Linked DNA regions of Homo sapiens: regions 1 and 2 are each linked to region 3. The links are contacts of gene promoters, found by promoter capture Hi-C in blood cells and fetal thymus (Javierre and others, 2016). All regions are on one chromosome and are shown on one strand. Each heading gives the region's core, a stretch centred on a gene start or on the middle of the fragment in contact. The rest is flanking DNA. Distances are from core to core; before and after follow the strand shown. Region 1 holds the start of ERI2 (ERI1 exoribonuclease family member 2). Region 2 holds the start of DCUN1D3 (defective in cullin neddylation 1 domain containing 3). Region 3 has its middle 33 kb from the start of METTL9.

What was found. The method cuts DNA at HindIII sites, captures the fragments that hold promoters and counts their contacts. A CHiCAGO score of 5 or more calls a contact.
Region 1: the fragment with the promoter of ERI2 here is called in contact with a fragment that was not itself captured in region 3 in 3 of 17 cell types (naive B cells, naive CD8 T cells and total B cells); the score reaches 6.1 in naive B cells.
Region 2: a contact is called between the fragment with the promoter of DCUN1D3 here and a fragment that was not itself captured in region 3, in 2 of 17 cell types (neutrophils and naive B cells). The highest score is 7.2, in neutrophils.

Annotation. Positions count from the first base shown.
Region 1 is chr16:20,804,576-20,808,069 of GRCh38, reverse strand. It overlaps ERI2 (ERI1 exoribonuclease family member 2), which reads left to right and starts at 1,598. Exons shown (of 9, transcript NM_001142725.2): 1 at 1,598-1,662. The coding sequence starts at 1,640. REXO5 (RNA exonuclease 5) reads right to left here and starts at 1,543. Exons shown (of 20, transcript NM_030941.3): 1 at 1,365-1,543; 2 at 979-1,118. The coding sequence starts at 1,116. RefSeq lists enhancers at 739-878, 1,599-1,708, 1,457-2,402. The HindIII fragment of the contact is 22,874 bases long and covers 1-3,494 here.
Region 2 is chr16:20,898,174-20,902,034 of GRCh38, reverse strand. DCUN1D3 (defective in cullin neddylation 1 domain containing 3) reads left to right here and starts at 1,677. Exons shown (of 3, transcript NM_173475.4): 1 at 1,677-1,831. LYRM1 (LYR motif containing 1) reads right to left here and starts at 1,264. Exons shown (of 4, transcript NM_001128302.3): 1 at 1,146-1,264. RefSeq lists enhancers at 287-1,072, 1,073-1,858, 2,068-2,117. The HindIII fragment of the contact is 5,697 bases long and covers 1-2,588 here.
Region 3 is chr16:21,564,402-21,568,113 of GRCh38, reverse strand. No RefSeq gene overlaps it. Among named protein-coding and RNA genes, the nearest start is that of METTL9, 33 kb to the left of the region's middle. The HindIII fragment of the contact is 1,772 bases long and covers 1,262-3,033 here.

The DNA of each region.
Region 1 (3,494 bases), core at 349-2,848, 760 kb after region 3:
AAGTTCACAATAGGGCTCACAATAGGTTTGGCACATTCCTATGAGAATCTAATGCCTAGGTGGAGCTCAGGGGGTAACGTTCTATCGGCCACCGCTCACCTCCTGCTGCTTTGTGGCCCGGTTCCTAACAGGCCAGCTGTGGACAGTGGGTTGGGGACCCCATGGACAGGCAGGTACTAGTCTGTGCACAGGGGGTTGGGGACCCCCGCCCTACTGGAATGTAAACTGCACGAGGGCAAGGAATTGTATTTTTGTGCCCCAGGATATCGATGAACATTCCTATTATGTACAGGCAGTTTTTTTTTTGTTTTGTTTTTTGTTTTTTTTTTTTAAGAGATGGGGTCCTTGCTATATTGCCCAGGCTGGTCTTGAATTCCTGGCCTCAAATGATGCTCCCGCCTTGGCCTCCCAAACTGCTGGGATTACAGGCGTGAGCCACTGCACCCGGCCCACCATCCCAGTTTTTTTTTTTTTTTTTTTTTTTCTGAGACGTGATTTCTTTCTTGTTGTCCAGGGTGGAGTGTAATGGCGTGGTCTTGGCTCATTGCAACCTCTGGTTCCTGGGTTCTAGCGATTCTCCTGCCTCAGCCTCCCAAGTAGGTGGGATTACAGTCACCCACTACCACGCCTGGCTAATTTTGTGTGTGTGTTTTTGGTAGAGACGGGGATTTCTCCATGTTGACAAGGCTGGTCTCGAACTCCTGACCTCGTGATCCGCCCGCCTCGGCCTCCCAAAGTGCTGGAATTACAGGCATGAGCCACCGCACTCGGCCGACTCACTATCCCAGTGACAGCCAATGACAGCCTTGTTGCAGGAAGGTGGTATTACACTCATTCCCATTTTAATGATCAGGGATCAGGTTCGGAGAGGCCAGGGCGGAGAGCCCGCCCGAATCCAGTGCCCCCGACGGCGGTTGGGCGAGGGTCCGGGAGCTCCAAACCGCCTAGGGCCGCCTGCTCGGGATCCCCGTTGCTCACCTTGGCCTCGGGCTGACTCTCCTCGAGATCCCAACCGGCTTTCATCGCCTCAGCTGCCCCGACCAGCTTATTTGGGGCCTGCCTGCTTTCCCTGACCTTCCTGGGGTGTCTCTCGGTCCCTTCCCTCTCTGGCTCCATGGCTGTGGAGAAAGATGAGGTAGAGCTGGGGAAACTCCAGCGCCCCTATTCCCCCGCGTGCCGCCTCCTAGCGGGAGAGCTACACGGGCTTGACAGCTTTCAACCTCCCTCGGATCCGCTTCTCAATTCAGTTTACCGAACTATCCCCGTTCCCCTAAAAAAGCGAAGGTGCCAACGATCTCCCCGTTCCGCGGACTGGACACCCGCGCCGCTCTAACCCAAACGGCTTTACCGTCCGCATCGGTTACCGGATTCTCAACGGTTCCCCAACGGCTACAACGGGCGTCTGCCTGGCAAAGAAGGAAGGTGCTGCCGAGCGGCTTCGCCGCCTAAAACCACTCCCCACGCCCCCTAGCCCGGGAAACGCAGAAGAGAAGACGGGCGGGGAGCAGAGGTTCTCCCCTCCTTAGCCACAGCTGCCAACAACAACCGCCCCTCAGCCTCGCGGGCTTTTTGAACGGACCGGAAGTAGAAGTCGAGCGACTTCCGGCAGCTGGACTTGGAAAAGCAAGGAGTGTCGGGAATGGCGACCAAGCGGCTCGCGCGGTACTCGAGGGAGTTCCGGGTCGGGGGCGGGTAGCTCCGGGTCCAGCGCTGGCGTTGGCCGCAGAGCAGGGCACGGCAGGTGGCATCTGCGGTGAGGGCCTCTATTCCCCGCAGCCCCGGCGTCTGCGACCTGCCCTCTCTGGCACGGTTGGAAAGGCGCCTCCCTGGACCTCGGTCTTCAGCCTTGGGCCACCTTCTACCCGAGGGTGACAGGAGCCCGAGGCGGACGAACCCTGGGGCCTTGACTGTGTGGCCTTGAGCCAGTGCCTGCCTATTTTAGGCCTTGGGAAACGACTGGACGTGACAGTGCCCTGCAGACTGGTTGGAGGTCTCAGGCAGGCCACACACTGAATCTGTCAAGGTGTTCAACCTGTTCGAAATGCTCGTTCCTCGGTGCTGTAAAGAAATAGAACTTAAACTTAAATTTAATTTATTTAGTAAGGCCATTTTTACTTCCTGCAGAAAGGGTACACTCGCCAGCAGTTTTGCCAGGAGAGTACACTGAACAAAGGAGACAGGGTCATTTATAACGTGGCGCGTCCACCCTACTGCTGTGTCCGGTTTCCTTTGGCTGGAACGGGACCTCACATTCTGTATTTGTCCCGACTGACTAGCAACATAGAACTTTTTAAAAGAGGCAAAGGCAGAGGAGAACAAAGGAAGAAGGAAGTAACTTGTGGAATGCTGAGAAAGGTAAAAACACTTTTAAGTAAGGAAGAGGAACAGGCTATGACCTAATGTTTGATTGGACCAGTATAAGCATGCCAGGGCAAATATTTAGGCTAAATTGTGGGAGCTAAGAACATAAAGTACATTGATTTCTTTATTATATCTAGCAGATATTTAAGAATGTTAGCACAGGTCTTTGAATAAATTTTGCTCTAAGAGAAGTTACTATTTATTCCTAATTAGACGGGGAAGGAAGTCTTTGAAGAGGAACCTCTACTTTTTACAAACCCATTTTCTAGTGATCTTTTTTTTTTTTTTTGAGACGGAGTTTTGTTGCCTAGGCTAGAGTGCAGTGGTGCGATCTCGGCTTACCATAACCTCTGCCTCCCGGGTTCAAGTCATTCTCCTGCCTCAGCCTCCCAAGTAGCTGGGATTACAGGCATGCACCACCACACCCAGCTAATTTTGTATTTTTAGTAGAAATGGGGTTTCTCTATGTTGGTCAGACTGTTCTCGAACTCCCGACCTCAGGTGATCCACCCGCCTCAACCTCCCAAAGTGCTGGGGTTACAGGTGTGAGCCACGGTGCCTGGCCTAGTGATCCTTTTAATTCACAATATGAATTATTGTGTCCTCCCTGATTCCTGGATGCGCTGTGCATATTTCTGATTACTAGAAAGATGTAATATAATAGCAAATAGCATGAGCTTCAGAATTGGACAGTCTTGGGTTCACATACCAAAGCTATGTTCTTTGGCAAATTAAGAATCAGTTTTCTCATCCATAAAATATAGGTAGGAAAAGTTTCTAGCTACTACACTTGTTGAGGATTAAAGGAGGCCATCATCTTAGTTTAATTTTAGTACCTGCTATGTAGTAAGCAGTCAATAAATGATATTTATTATTCCCAAATCCTGGCACTTCCCACTCTTAGCAAACACAGAAAACTACAGGAGGTGTCTGCCTAGTTAAAACTCTACCTGCTAATACCAAGTAGTTTGTTTTACTTGCACTTAAGACCTCAGTAAGCTCTTCTCTTTTTTTCTTATTTTATTTTATTTATTTATTTTTTTGAGACAGGGTCTCGCTCTGTTGCCCATGCTGGAGTGCAGTGGCATGATCTCGGCTCACTGCAGTCTCCACCTCCCGGGCTCAAGCAATCC
Region 2 (3,861 bases), core at 428-2,927, 670 kb after region 3:
GGTTCAAGCGATTCTCCTGAGTAGCAGAGATTACAGGCGCGTGCCACTACGCCCAGCTGATTTTTGTATTTTTAGTAGAGATGGGGTTTCACCATGTTGGCCAGGATGATCTCGATCTCCTGACCTCGTGATCCGCCCGCCTAGGCCTCCCAAAGTACTGGGTTTATAGGCGTGAGCCACCGCGCCCGGCCGGCCCTTTCAACACTATCTTCACCTCTCCTTTGTCTTACAGTGCAACAGTCTCCTAACAGGTCTAACTACTTCCACCCTTCTCTATCCAGCAGGCAGAGCGGATTTTTAAAAATGTAAATCAGGTCAGGTCACTTCCCTTCTTAAAACCCTTAAGGTACACATTAGCCAAACCCCTGCCTTGGGCTAAAAGGCGCTGCTACAGTCATGCCACTTCCCCAACTACATCACAGGGCACTCCGGCCCTGGCTCTGTTTGCTTCAGCCACATGGCCTTCTGGCTGTTTCCAACCTAAAAGTCCTTCTCATTGGCTCTTCTCTCCACCCAGAAAACCCATTGTCTCGGATCCCCGCAAAACCGTGGCCTCCTTTGAACGACCTTACCCGATTTCGAGGGGCCCTCCCCCCATCTTCTGTCACCTCATCCGGTCTTTGGGGGGCATTTCTCACTTGCTGATACCTTCTTTATTGATTTACTTAACTCTCTCCTGCACACGAATGGAAGGTAACGGAGCAACACCCTACTCTCAGGTTTGAAGAGCAAGAGAATTACGAAGCTGGCTCTCACGGTCCTAGGGAGTCTCCGTTCCTGTACGGGACCTGGTGTGGGTCAACGTTCCCCAGCCAGACACCTCTCGCCCCCGGACCGGCCCCTACCATCTCCCATTTACATTCGGGGGTCCAAAAGATTCACAGCCTCCGAGGGGGCCCCACGCCGGCACCTGAGCGTCCCCACACCAGGCCTCCCCTCTTGGACGCGCGAGCCACTTCCGTGAGGCAGGTCCCCGAGGCCGGTGGCGATGACACCGAGCCGCCCCCGCGAAGCTGGGGTCACACAGGCCCGTCTCCCGGCAACGCCGCAGCCCAACCTCCAAACCATCCCTGCCCGTGGGGAGCCAACCCCTTCCCCGCCAGTCTCCCGCGCCTGGAGTCGGCGCCTCCATCCCCTACACTCACTCTGCGTCAGTCCTGCCTTCCCCCACCCACAGAAGCGCGCAGCCCGCGGCGGGCTGGGAGGAGGCGGCGCCAGGAGCCCAGCAGAGCCGTGGCCGACCGAGCACAGGCTGGTCCAGTAGGCCAGGCCGGACCAAACCACCGGGCCCACCTCTGTGGGAGCACCAGTTCCAGGTCTGGGGGAGTCTCGACTGACTGACTCTACCCATCTCCCGCCGCATCCAACAATAAGCTGAGCTCCTCCTCCCCCTATTTTTCCTTTACGCTTTCATTATCCTCCCCGCTCCATTCCCGTAAAACAAGAAAAAAAAATGGTCCAGCCCAGCTCCCTCCGGGTTGCTAGGTCTTTGCCCTTACTTGGCGACGGCTTCGTACGTCTTTATGTGCGTCGTGACGCAATCTTCCACTCGTTCCCTCCTTGCCCCTCTCCCATTCTCCCTCCTGGAGCTGGCGGCCGGCGGGGTTACCGGAAGTGATGATGCAGGAGGCGATGGAGGGGGCGGGGCTTCGGGGCGGCCGCCGCCGGTGGGCCGCAGATGAAGAGGAGGCGGTGGCAGTGGTGGAAGAAGAGGCGGCGGCGGCGGGGGTAGGGAGCCTGGAAACGCGAGCGGGGATGGTAGGTGGTTTGGACCCGCCGGGCCGCCGTCGTTTCCAGAAAGGGTTTGACTGGAGGAACCTCTGGAGCAGCTGTGAGTTTTGGGGAGGGGGGGAGTTGAGGAAAAGGCGGGGGGGCATTGAGAGATGAAGGGGCGGGGGTTGGGTACCTTCGAGAAAGGGGGGTGGAAAGGGAGGAGTGGAAGTCAGCGCGTTGTCTGGAGTGGTACCTCTGAAAGAAGAGGCTGTGAGGGGAGCCTGTGGCGTGTCAGCCGCAGGGCTCAGAAAACTTACCTACTGTCCCTGCCTCCCCACCGCCAGCACCCCTCAACCCAGGGCCTGGGGATATGGGGTTGGAGCTGCCCTGGAGGGGGTGCAGACTCTGGTCCTCTGTCCTGGGTGAGCGCTGTGAGGTAGGAGCCCTAGGGGGAGGTGGTGGGTGAATCTCCCAGCTCCCTCCGCCCTCATTTCCCTCCCCACCCCCATCGTTCTCTTTAATCATTAACAGCCCTGGAATTAAGGGGCTCAGACCTGAAGGCCTTTTTGTGCACCTTTGCTATAAACGATAACCATCTGTGTCCGAGGTAATGAGGCTGGAGGCTTTGCCTGTATCCTCTATAGGAAGTGGGACGGGGTGACAAATGTATTGTTTGTTCCTCCACCACACCCCCCGCACTTCTCACCCCTCATCCTCCCCCATGCACACCCCTGGTTTCCACTTTAATTCTCTGTGGCTGAGTGGCAATAGTGGATTTTTTTTTCTTCCCCTTTCCTCCTTTATGGCACTTAGTGCCTTGGTTACCTCTTTTGAATTTGGTGTTCAGCCTCTATCCCAGATCTTAACTGTAAGCTTTGTAATACTTCATACAGGCTGTCACGTTGGGAGTACCTCTTACGCTCCGATTATAATGAGCATTTTCTTTTATGAATACTGGAATTCCAGAGCCTTTGCAAGGAATCCTGAATGGCATCATAGCCCAGGAATCAAGGTCTCTTGCTCGAAATACTTTATGTGTGAGGAATTTACATGTTGTCAGCTCTTCCCAAAATGATTTGCTAGGCTAATTCTGGATTTCTGTGTTTCTCTCCACCCACTTTTCATGATGCACTTCAGAGAACAGAAAACCCCATATTACTTTTTTGTTTCTACAATTGGACAATAGCTCTTTTATGTTTTTCTCCATTTATGTGTGACACACAAATCATCAGTGACACGTTCAGCTTGTGCTGATTTTCATCTTTACGTAGCTGATTCTTTGTGTATGGGGGTCCTAAATGAGACAGTGTGATCTGTTTAGTTTTGGTTTAAGGGCGAATACAAACCAATAACGGATGTGAAAAAATTATTTGAAGCAAAGAATGGAAAGAAGGCCTCTTTGTTGATATGCTGTTGGTTTAAAAAAAATCAAGGAGCACTCTTCTAGCCTCTCAGACAGATATCAGAGTGAAGTGTTATGATTTTCCTTTTGGTGTTGATACATTCTTCGGAAATCTTTTGTAGAATCTGAAACTGTTTTCTGAAGAACTTTAAGAGATAGTGCCTACATTTTCGGAGTCCTTTGATTAGAAAGTGCCCGTAAGTCCTGTCCTTCTGTAACTGAGCTTGATATGCATAGTGCTAGGAAGATCTGATGCTAGGAAGTCCTATTCAGGGCTTTCGGGCCCTAAAAAACAGAATATTTAATGCTTGATTATACCAGTAACAGCGTGTTTAGATGTTTCACAAAAATACAACAGAAGAATGACTACTGTTCTCACTTTAACTGATTTAGAACCTAGTTTGCCATTGACTAAAAAGTTCACAGTTCATTAATTCAACAAACATTTATTGACTCCTAAGTGCTAGCCAGTGTTTCAGGCACTGGGTGTACACAGGTGAACACAAGCAAAAGGTTCACCCTTTCATGGAGCTTACATCGGAGTGGGAGCTGGGGACAGAGAGAGACATAATATATATCCCAGTAAACCAGATTTTGATCAAGCGCTGAAGAAAATAAGAGTGATGTGATTGAAAGTGTCTTAACTGTAGATGCAGTCAAAGAGGATCTTTCTGAGGAAGTGACACTTAAGTTGAGCTTTAAGTATAAAGAAGGAGCCAGCCATCCAAAGAAAAGGGGAAGATCCT
Region 3 (3,712 bases), core at 898-3,397:
ATTCAATGGTAGGTGAAACTGCTAAAGTCTCTATCTTCATGGAGCCTACCTACCTCCTAGTGTGCGAGATAGGTCTTATTTAAATAGTCATAAGTTTGATTTACACATGATTATATAAGATGACTGTAGAAAGTGCTATGATAGAAAAACAAGGTATTAAATGAGAGCTCATTGTTAGAGGGTCTGGCTCATGCTGGGCAAGTGGAGGCCAGAGAATGCTCCCCAGAGGAAATATTTGAGCTGAGTTCTAAAGGACAAGTAGGCATTAACTAGGAGGGTTCTGCCTAGAATCATGTGCAAAACCTCCGGCCACCACTACCTCCTCCTCTAAAAGCCACAGCTGGAGCCAGGCATGGTGGCTTATGCCTGTAATCCCAACATTGTGGGAGCCCAAGGCAGGCAGATTGCTTGAGCCTAGGACTTCAAGACCAGCATGATCAACATGGTGAAACCCCATCTCTACAAAACATACAAAAATTAGCTGGGTGTAGTGGCGCTCAGCTGCAGTCCCAGCTACGCAGGGGGCTGAGGTGGGAGGATTGCTTGAACCTGGGAGGCAGAGGTTGCAGTGAGCCGAGATCATGCCACTACACTCCAGCCTGGGTGACAGAGCAAAACCAGAAGAAGAAGAAGATAAAAGATAAAAGCCATAGCTGGGAATGTCCTTGGTGCTCTGAACTGGATGACATTTGTTAGGCATGGCCATCCCACAGACTCACTGCTCCTCAAGATCACCCTTCAGTTATCCAAGAACTGATGGTTACCTACCCATGCTCTGCTCTTCTGCTGCTACTTTCTGGGCTCTGAGATGACCACAGAGGCCAGGGTCAAATGCTGGGCCACTCACCACATACTGATGATGCTGTCAAAATGTGGTTACCCTTCTGCTCCACCTCAATTATCTGTGGAAAACCTAATTTAAGGGGTATATGGTGTTTTGTCTGCCCGCATTTCTTCCTGTAAGAAACACGCTTTCCCCTCTTCCCTAGTAAACTGTCTCAGTCCTTACGAGTTGGTGGAGCTGGACTGCCTCACTTCCATCCCCAAGGTCAGGTACATGCCCAGATCTGGTCAGAGGACTTCATGTGTCAAGGTACAACTACTGCCTCAGCCATGAGCACTTGACTCATACAGTGCCCATTAGCGTCCACCTGGGGACTTTTTCTGTGCTACTGGAACAAAAGTGCATGTTTCCTCACCATCTTGGGCTGTTAGCCCTATGTGAACATGGAGGTATCTTGCTGCCATGCGATGAAAAGCTTATACACAACGCAGAGGGTAAGTCAGAGAAACTAGTTAATGACATAATTTGAGATCCAAATCTGCCTGACTTTTCAGCTACAGAAGCCAATAAATTCCCTTTTTTTTCTTTTTTTCTTTTTTTTTGAGACAGAGTCTCACTGTCGCCCAGGCTGGAGTACAGTGGCGTGATCTTGGCTCACTGCAACTTCCACCTCCCGGGTTCAAGTGATTCTTCTGCCTCAGCCTCCAGAGTAGCTGGGACTACAGGCGTGCACTACCATGCCTGGCTAATTTTTTGTATTTATAGTACAGGCAGGGTTTCACCGTGTTGCCCGGGCTGGTTTAGAACTTCTGACCTTAGGTGATCCACCCGCCTCGGCCTCCCAAAATGCTGGGATTATAGGCATGAGCCACTGTTCCCAGCCCGAATTCCTTTTTTATTTAAGCTAACCTGCATTGAATTTCTGTCACTTGTAGCCAAAGTGGTTTGAATAATGCACCTTTCCAATTGGCACTTGTGCCCAAATTACCATAAACTGGCTGTCTCTGACCACTCTAGGGAAAGGATTCAGTGATTTCTAATTGACCACTACCAGTGAAGACATGGGAGGTTTGAAATAGCTGAGCCCAGATTCTGAGAACGACAGGACAAGGTCATGATTGTACTTTTGAACTTGATGTTGGAGGTGTTCACAAGCATGACGCCTCTCCTGGACTTTGTTTACTGATAGGAACCACAAGATAGACGAGACAGCAGAATTAGGCCAACAATGGGTGCAAGGTGCCAAAAAGGTAATAGAAACCCAAGTTCCACTTTGAAGCAGCATAAATCAGACATTTCTCAAACATTAAAAACGGAAGTGGCCTGATCAAGACCTTTAAACGGAGTAAAAAGCCACGAAGCCAAGGCCTTGAGCAGCTAGTCAGAGAATTATTGCAATATGTGCTCAGAGACACAGGGTTTCATGAAAAGCCCAGTCTCTGCCTGGCTGCAGCACCTCTGTGCTTTTTGTCCCAGCATTTGCTTAGCAGCAGAACCTCATTATCCTTCAGTGTTCTGTAGTTATAACAGATTCCAGCTTCAGGGGGAAAAAAATGGATTCCAGCTGCCAGGGGTTCTCTCTGGGAGATTTTCTATCTCTGAGACGAAATTGTCTTTTTCTCCCTTTTTTCATGGTGAGAGGGGCATGGAGTACACCTCTGATAATCTGCAGAGGCAAAGCCTTGCATGAGCATGCTGACAACCCTGCAGAGAGAAAGCCTTAGGCTGGAAGTTCAAGGGCAGCCAGGAGAATGAACATTTCGATGAATAAAGCAATTTGATAACTACCATGTTGTGGTCTAAGACCCACCACTTACAGGCTTACATGGTGATTACTGAAGCTGCAACTATTTTAATGGCTTCATCTACTTTAAAGTACTGGTGATTTTTCTACTACTTCATTTAATTGCTTGATGTTTCTTGGAAGAGTTCTTCGGTCTTTCTGCTAAAATGTTATCCCAAGCTAGGAGAGATGCCATGATTTCAGAGAATTTCTTTTCCTCTATAATATTATATATTTTCCTCTGGGTTATCAATGAACCTACTGACTACTTTGAGTATTATGCCTTTAGGATGTCTTCACCTCTCATTTCCTTAACATTTTTAAATGAATCTCTGATAGAAAAATGAATCTGAAGCCTTGCTTATGCTTTGATTCATTCAACAAATATTTATTGCACACTTACTGTTTTAGATGCCTGGGATACAGAGTAAATAAATCAACAATGATCCTTGCCTTCAACAAAGCTTACATTCTGGTGGAGGCAAAGAGATAATACATAAATAAATTTAATATCATCTTTTGTAATAATAACCATTACACCTCTGCTTATGAAAAAAATTGCATTCAATTTTTGCTCACAATCTTCTTTTTTTTTTTTTTTTTTTTGAGACAGAGTCTCACTCTGCCACCTAGGCTGGAGTGCAGTGGCATAATCATACTTCACTGCAACCTCTGCCTCCTGGGCTCAAGTGACCCTCCTGCATCAGCCCCACAAGTAGCTGGGACTACAGATGCATGCCACAATGCCCAGCTAATTTTTCTATTTTTTGTAGAGATGGGATTTTGCCATGTTTCCCAGGCTGGTCTTGAACTCCTAGGCTCAAATGATCTGCCTACCTCGGCCTCCCAAAGTGCTGGGATTACAGGCACTGAGCCACTATGCTCAACTAATCTTCTGTTCCCTTCCTTCCTTCCTTTTCCTTCCTTCCTTCCTCTCTCTCTCTTCCTTCCTTCCTCTCTCTCTTCCTTCCTTCCCTTCCTTCCCTTCCCCTCTTCCTTTCTCTCTCTCTCTTTTCTTTCTTTTTTCTGACAGAGTCTTGCTCTGTCACTCAGGCTGGAGTGCAGTGGCACAATCTTGGCTCACTGCAACCTCCACCTCCTGGGTTCAAGTGATTCTCTTACCTCAGCCTCCTGAGTAGTTGGTA